2 separate regions of the Homo sapiens genome follow, and region 1 is linked to region 2. Evidence: promoter capture Hi-C in human tissues and cell types (Jung and others, 2019). All regions are on one chromosome and are shown on one strand. Each heading gives the region's core, a stretch centred on a gene start or on the middle of the fragment in contact. The rest is flanking DNA. Distances are from core to core; before and after follow the strand shown.

What was found. Contacts are between HindIII fragments. The study calls those that stand out against the background at their distance.
Region 1: a fragment that was not itself captured here is called in contact with the fragment with the promoter of LRRTM3 in region 2 in 3 of the 25 tissues and cell types used here (dorsolateral prefrontal cortex, hippocampus and mesenchymal stem cells).

The regions. Positions count from the first base shown.
Region 1 is chr10:66,830,141-66,834,001 of GRCh38, reverse strand. All of the region lies in intron 7 of CTNNA3 (catenin alpha 3), which reads left to right. Among named protein-coding and RNA genes, the nearest start is that of LRRTM3, 94 kb to the left of the region's middle. The HindIII fragment of the contact is 4,136 bases long and covers 1-3,344 here.
Region 2 is chr10:66,924,652-66,928,566 of GRCh38, reverse strand. It overlaps LRRTM3 (leucine rich repeat transmembrane neuronal 3), which reads right to left and starts at 2,531. Exons shown (of 3, transcript NM_178011.5): 1 at 1,980-2,531; 2 at 115-1,646. The coding sequence starts at 1,983. The region is part of intron 7 of CTNNA3 (catenin alpha 3); the gene reads left to right. All of the region lies in intron 3 of LOC101928961 (a long non-coding RNA gene), which reads left to right. RefSeq lists a silencer at 2,559-2,668 and an enhancer at 2,288-3,144. The HindIII fragment of the contact is 13,899 bases long and covers 369-3,915 here.

The sequences.
Region 1 (3,861 bases), core at 27-2,526, 93 kb after region 2:
CCTTCCCAATAACATTTTGGCAAGACAACTAGGCTCTTTTTCTTGACAGTAAAGGCCTACTTACTGGGACAAAGGGCGGGATGGGTAAAAGCTTCTTAGGTATTCAAAATAGAAAAATAGCAAGCTGGTGTGTGTGTGTGTTTACAATACTTGAAACAGGATTCGTGAAATCCTATTAGTCCATCTTGAGAAAACACATGGAAGAGGAGCCTTTCTCTCCCTGTTGGGCTCTCTTGGTGTTCAGAAAATTGGATATGTAGTTCACTTGAGATTTTGTAGTACAGTACTGAAACTCATCTCAGTCATGTATTTGACAGCTACCTACACTATCCAGATGAAATAACATAAAAGTGTTGGAGCAAGTGTCTAGGAACACACTACTTCAATACGTATTAGCTTGTTGATGGTGAGTAAGTCAATGAACTTCTCTGAAACTTAGTTTCCTAATCTACAAAACAGAAATAATAAACCCTGACTTGTTTACTTTCTCTGAGTTTCAGATGAAATAATGTGCATAAAATACTTTGTCAACTAAAAAACCTCCTAGAAATGTAATATTTTGTTTTTAAATGCTTATTCTATAAGGATTTGCACGTAGTCAGTGCAATTATGCTTATTATAGAGATATAAACAAGATAGAAAAATGTGGATTGGATGAAAAAATCTTTAGGTGGATTCAATGCCTACTGAACAGTCAATGAAGTAGGTCTTGATTCATGCATTAAGCCTCCTGGCAGACTGGCTAGCAGCAGCTCTGCTCTCCCTATTCAGTGTCCTCACTGTGACCTGAATGAAGACACACAAGTCATGCTCTTTAGATTCTTCAATGATTCAGACCTCAGAGGACTACCTAGCAACATGAATGGCAGATCCAAAATTCAATTTGATCTTAAAAGGCAGAAACAATGATCTGAAAGCACCAAGATAAAATATAACATGGATATAAATAAAATTCTTCTTTTAGAGTAAAAATAATCTATCGCACAAATTCAGGAAGGGGGTGAACTGCCTTGGAGGAAGTTGATATGAGACCATCTGGGGTTTTTAGGTGTCTACAAGCTCAAATAGAATGTGATGCATTTGCTTTGAAGAAAAAAAATTTCTGAATAGAAAAATATGGCTGCTTCCTCCAGTGATCTAGTGCTCAGAAATCTAGCTACTGAGTTAGGGGATTAGAGCTCTGGTCCTCACTCTGCCAATGTCTCACGGTGTCACCTTGCTAGGGTCATTTAATGTCTCTTAGCTTCAGTTTTTCTGACCTTTAAAATGAGAAGTTTAGGCTGAGTTATTTCTGGATTGCTACTAGCTAGAAGAATCTGTGACTTTGAGTTGGGTCATAAAAAAACCTTTTCTTCTTCCTTTTTTTTTTTTGAAAATTGATATATCCACAACTAGTAGGAAGACAAACTGATTACAGGAGAATAATTGAGAACTAAAATTATAACGTGTATATCTTTTTATTTTCTCAGTGATTGTGGCATTAATTTAATTTTGTTGGCTTAGTAAATGGCCTCCTCAAAAACAATATATTTTTCAACTTATTTTTCTTAACTGGTGTGCCTTAAGAACTTTTTCCGGAACTTCAAATTTTCCCGTAACTTTCAGGTACAAATCCCAGCAGGGTCCATCTGGCTCACTTTCCTTCTAAGACAGATAAATTGAGCTGTGTGTGCTTTTACAGTGCGTGATCTTAGATATCTACATGAGACTTTCAAAAATTAAGGCCCTGTCTACTGCTTATAGATATATACAGGGTCTCAGACCTCTCTTTGTAAGAATAACAATTTATCATCAAAACTATAGAGTCATTTTTTCTGCCAAAATGAGTGTAGTTTCTTCCCAACTTATAGAAATATTATGTCTTTGATATGAACTTTAATTGAGCAGTGAATTACTTAGTGGTTTGCAGTGCTTCTGGGTGTTAGAATGTGCTGGGTTTTTCAGGATGAGTGGCTGTGTACGTAGGTATTTTGTTCAGTGTTTCAGAGCACCTGACCAAATTCATTCCTTTCCTTATGCTATTTGTTGATAAAGGATTTGCTCTATATTCCATACAATTGAATTCCTTGTCTTCTTTAATCTGCTTGCCTTATCCTCATTAGTTTTTGAAAGCTTGAACTATGTCTTAAATTGAATGAATTAATCAGAATATCTCATCCCTGAAGATATCAGATAAAAGAGAATTCATCATATTAAAGACATTGTGCTGGAAAAATAGTGGATTGTTTTCATGCTTCTCTCCCTTCTTCCCTCTTTCCCTTTCCTCTCTCCTCTGCTTTCCTGCATCTCATGCTCCTTCCCCTTTTTTTTGTTTCTTCTCTGCACAACTCTTTATTGAATTGCTACTGTGTGCTAGGTAGGCTGAGGATTTACTGTCTAGTAAAATATCCGCTGCTTTCATGGTGCTTATAGTCTAGGAGAGGAATCAAACCAGTAAACAATTGAAGTGCCAACTGGTAGAGAGACAGCTCAGTAATGAAAGCCAGAGAAAGCATCCCAGAAAAGATTTCAAACCTGAGAGGTAAGGGTGGATTAAAAGTTAGTGGAGTGAAAGCTTGGATTGGGCATAGGAAATGTTCTAGACAGAGAGCAAGCGTATGGTAAAGTCTTGAGATGGGAAAAAGCATAGCACAATTAAGAAATTTGAAAAGTCAGAACGAGTGAAGCCTGGCACACAAGGGAAGATGGGCCAGAAATGGGATTGAAGGATCACAAGCTTACAAAGGCCTTACTGCTTATGGATCCAAAGAGCATCAGAGAATCACTGGGGAGTTTAAAGAAATAAAATAACATGATCAGGTTTTCATTTTAAAAAGACCATTGTTTTTCCTGCAGATTAGAGACTTATTTGGAAGGACATAAGATTGATTATTGTAGTAGTCCAGGTGAAAGAGGATGATGGTGATGCATTGGATCAGGGGAGTATTGAAGAGGCTATTTCATGGGAGTAAAGCTTTGGAATCATTCTTTGTTTCATTTTCAGGTAACTGTCTTTAAAGCTGTCATTTAAAAACATATAAAACAAAAATTCTTTTTTTTCCCTTTTTTATGACTTTTTGAGGACATAAAGGTTGCTTAAAGAAGAAATTAGTAGGCCAGGCGCGGTGGCTCACGCCTGTAATCCCAGCACTTTGGGAGGCCGAGGCAGGCGGATCACGAGGTCAGGAGATAGAGACCATCCTGGCTAACACGGTGAAACCCTGTCTCTACTAAAAATACAAAAAATTAGCCGGGCGTGATGGCGGGCGCCTGTAGTCCCAGCTACTCGGGAGGCTGAGGCAGGAGAATGGCGGGAACCCAGGAGGCGGAGCTTGCGGTGAGCCGAGATCGCACCACTGCACTCCAGCCTGGGCAACAGAGCTAGACTCCGTCTCAAAAAGGAAAAACAAAAAAAAAAAGAGAAATTAGTAGTTGTGAGGGGTTGAGGTGTTTAGAATAGAATTCTCCATGCTGCATTGGTTTATGCTGAAGAAGGAGCACGAGTAGAAGCAGAGTGGGAGCTCTGAATTTAAACCCCAGTTTTGCTAGTAATGAGCTCTGGGACTACAGGTAAATAACTTAACCTCTGTCGGTACTTCTTTCAATTCTAATCTTCTAAGATTCTATGAGTGCTCCTGTAAGAAAACTCTAGGAAAGAAAAACCTTCAGGTATTTGTTTGCATTTTAAATATCTTAATACTGTTTTAATCCTTATTGGTACACATATTTAAATTCTAGATTCAACAAGTGAGAAGCTTTGCTAACAGTATCGTAAATCAGAAACTACAAAAGTATTAATCTGGTATTAGAAATCAGGCTGTTTTTCTATCTTGCATACCTGCTTATAGACATGAGAGATTTTGAGGTCTGTGAAATATAAGC
Region 2 (3,915 bases), core at 1,282-3,781:
AGGGAGAGGGAAGGGGAGGGGGGGCATCGCGTTCCCTTGATAGTCACCAGAGTTCAATAAAGCACCACTTATTTCCCAGCTTTTAAGAGCTCTTTTTATCACAATGGTTCATACCTCACACTCCCTGGAGCCCGATTTGTTATAGGTGCAGGGTCCCGTCCCATTCAGCAGCATCTCGCTGGTCTCCGTGTTGGTGGGTTTATAATCTACATAAAATTCCTGGGTGCTGGGAGTCATTTGCTTTAGGGACTGTCTTTTCTTTTTCCTGTGCCTTCGCATGAGGGAGCGCTGCTGCAGCTGCTTCATGCTCGCAGGGTACCGCTTCCATGACACGTAGATAACCAGCAGGATGACGAGCACGGACAGGAAAAGCGCCACGCTGCCCGCGATGATTTTATGGAAAGAGATGTGCTCGGCGTCAGCATCGGTCTCTGGGCCGGGCTCTGTGGCTCCCACCGTCGGGGGCAAAGGGGGTTTGCTCTCATGCTTCGGCCTGGGGAGCTTGGGCTTAAACGTCGGCTTTGGGAGAGCCCTGGCCAGATCAAACCTCTCTGTAGTACTTTTGCCACAGATGCTGTAGTTCTTCACTGCATCGATCACATTTACTCCTTGCAGCTCTTTGGGACTGGCACAGATAATTGTATTCTCCCTTAGACCTTTAAAACTTTTCAGCCAGTTTACAAGGGAGCAAATATTTCTGCTGCATTCCCATATATTCCCAGCAAGACTGATGTCATTGAGGGATATCCAAGAATCCAAAATCTCTTGACCAATAAATGTGAGCTTGTTGGAATCCAGGTTGAGGCGCTGCAGATTCGGGACACACTGGAAAACACTGGGTCCACTGAAAGCTTCGATCTCATTGCCTGATAAATCAAGCCTTTGTAAGGAGCTCCAGGTCCAGGACATGGTCTGTCCTATGACACTGATTTTATTCCACTGCAAGTAAAGGTTCTGAAGGCTGACCAACCTTGGAAAAAGGGCCAGGTTGAGCTTGGAAAATTGATTGTGCTCCAGGTGAAGTTCTTTGAGTCTGATCATGCCAGCAAAGACATTCCTGGCTAAACTTCGGATCCGGTTATATCCCAGGTCCAAAAGTTCCAGGTTGCGGCAGTCTTGGAATATTCGCACAGGGATGGTTCTCAGGGAGTTAGACCGTAAATGTAAACTCAGCAGCTTCCGCAAGCCCCGAAACTGTTCAGATCCCAGAGAATGCAGCTGATTATAGGACAGATCCAAGTTCCGTAAATTTGTCACAGGTCTGAAGGTATTGTTAAGAAAATAGGAGATTCTATTGGAACTAAGAATCAGCTCTTTGAGTCTGCGTATTCCATTAAAAGCATTTTCGTCAATATTGCTGATATGGTTATGGTCAAGGTATAGCCAGGTGAGCTGGTTGAGCCCTTTAAATTGATTATACTTAAGTTTTTGAAGGCTGTTATAGCGAAGGGACAAACCTAAGCAACCAGCAGATATACTTGAGGGTATCTCCTGTAATTTCTGAGATTCACAATATACCATTTTGCCTTCACACCTACAGCCCTTAGGGCATCCTCGTTCGGCAGAAGAAAGCATTGTCAGTAAGACAGTGGGGGCTATAACCAGTGCTACAGCTGATCCGCTCAGTAGCCTAATTACATTGAAACCTGGAAATAAAAACAACTTAGAAAAGTTATCCCCCCAAAAAAGAATTAATCCTTAATCAAGCAAAAATAGGCATATATTTTTCATTTTTAAAAATTTAAATCTAAATAACACTTAACATCACATATTATCTCTTTGTAATTAAAGAGAATTGTCTTTAGTGTTTTGTTTTTTTAAATAGTTAAACAAGGAAACATGCCACTAAGCAAATAAATTCATAGTCTTAGAGCAGAGCAAGGTAATCTCTAAAATAATTAAGGCAGAATTATTACACACACTAGAGGTTTTTTGTTTTTTGTTTTTAAGAAGGAAAGAAGAAAAATGACAAAACATACCCATCCTTTGTATTGTTCAAAGGTCGTCCTTAGGTCTTTTGCTTTGGCTTAGGGGCCAGTTGCATGACAGCCCCTGTCAGCTGCACTGTAGTGAGTCAGGGCTCGCTGACACCCAGGAAGAAAAATTGGACCCCTTGGGAGATGGACCGATTTTGGAACATTATTCTTTGCCAGCCACGCAGAACACTCCAAGAACAAATAAATCCCAACACCGCATTCGCAGCAAAACATCAAAATCTTCCTAGGTAATAGGATCTTCATGGATATTACGTTTTTGCATCTTTACAGTTTTTTGGGGGGTGGGGAGGGGGCGGTTAAAAAAAAAACTGGATCCTACAATTTCTTCTTATCGAAAAACATGATGTATTCTTCCAGGCAATTTGGGGCTACCTGAGCTGCCACATCTGTATTCCATACCCCAGCAGTTCCCGTGATGAGCACCCAGTTCAGCCACAGAGCTGCGTTGGAGCCCAGAAGGCAGGAGAGCCCCGTACCGCGCACACGCTCAGCTCACTTCTGCAGACTGTCATTCTGAAAGCTGCTCGGACTGTTGCTTTGGTTTCAGTGAATGCAGTCTTATGTAAAGCTGCCCCCAGTGGTGAAGAACATTATGGGCATGTGCAGAAATGTCTCTCTTTTATCTTGCAAATGAGCAGGCTCTCTGCTGGAAAATGAATGATTCTTTTGGGTGGCTCAGTAGGAACTGAATGGTCACCGTGATCAATAACTAGCAACATTTTCTGTGATTTCCAAGTCTTGTTTTACAATTTGGCAACGTCTTTATTGTCTGTGTCCACTTAATTGCTAAACATGTGCTGCCCAGAGTTTTTCTGGAGCTTGACATTAAGTTCACAGACCGAACGTCAATTTTTCTTAACCTCAACGCAGGCTTTAAACTGAAATTTATAAAATGAATTATTGAGCTTTTCACAGAGAAGCATTAACTGCCTGCCCATTTGACCTCTTGGAGTCACAGTGATTATATTATGCAAGGTGTCTCAGGATGTTAGAACACAAACATTTTGGAATAGAGGGGATGACTGATGACAAGTGAATTAATGTGTCCAATAGCCTTTCCGGTTTTCTCACAGACGATATAATTGATTTTATGGCTATAGTTTCGTTTGTTGTTTTGGTTGTTGTAATTCTCTTTTAATTAGAAGGGAAATAAACCATTTTTAGTGTTAGGATACGAATCAAGAGATCATTTGGTTCATACTTTATTGATGTTGCTGCTATTTATTACACTAATAATATTTATGGAGCACTTTCTAAGTGCTTTAAATGGGCTACGTTGTTTTCTCTTTAAACAATAGTATGATGTGGGTCCTATTATAACCTCTCTTTTAAAGATGAGGAAACAGACTTGGGGAGGTAACTTTCTCAAGGTCATACAGCAAGCGAGTGCTAGAGCTGAGCTTCAGAAGCGAGTCATTCTTATGCCGAACCACTAACCACTAGATGATCCTGTTCAACAACATTGTTATCTTCATTTAAAAAAGAAGTCAGTGAAAATGAAGCCGATTAAAGGATTGGGGCAAGGAAGCTGTGATTAGCAAATTCTTGCTTGTTCTATTAGAATTGCCTAAATTTCTTTTGGTCTGAGGTTCCTAAAGAAGTATAAAAACTAAGGCAGCGTAGTTTAGTGATTAACAGCATAGATTTTGGCACCTAGATTCCAACTCCTGGCTACAATTTACCAGCTATGTAACCTTAAGCGCGTTACTTACCTTCCCTATGCCTCAGTTTTCTCATCTGCAAAACGGGCATAAAAACAAAAACTCACTTCATGTTTTGAGAATTAAGTCATTTTAATATCTGTATGTTACTTAGAACAGTGTGTTGCATGCAATAAGCCTGTGTAAGATATTTGAATAATATTAACTTTATTTGTACTTGCTAGGATTACGTACTGAATATTGACTATACTGACCTT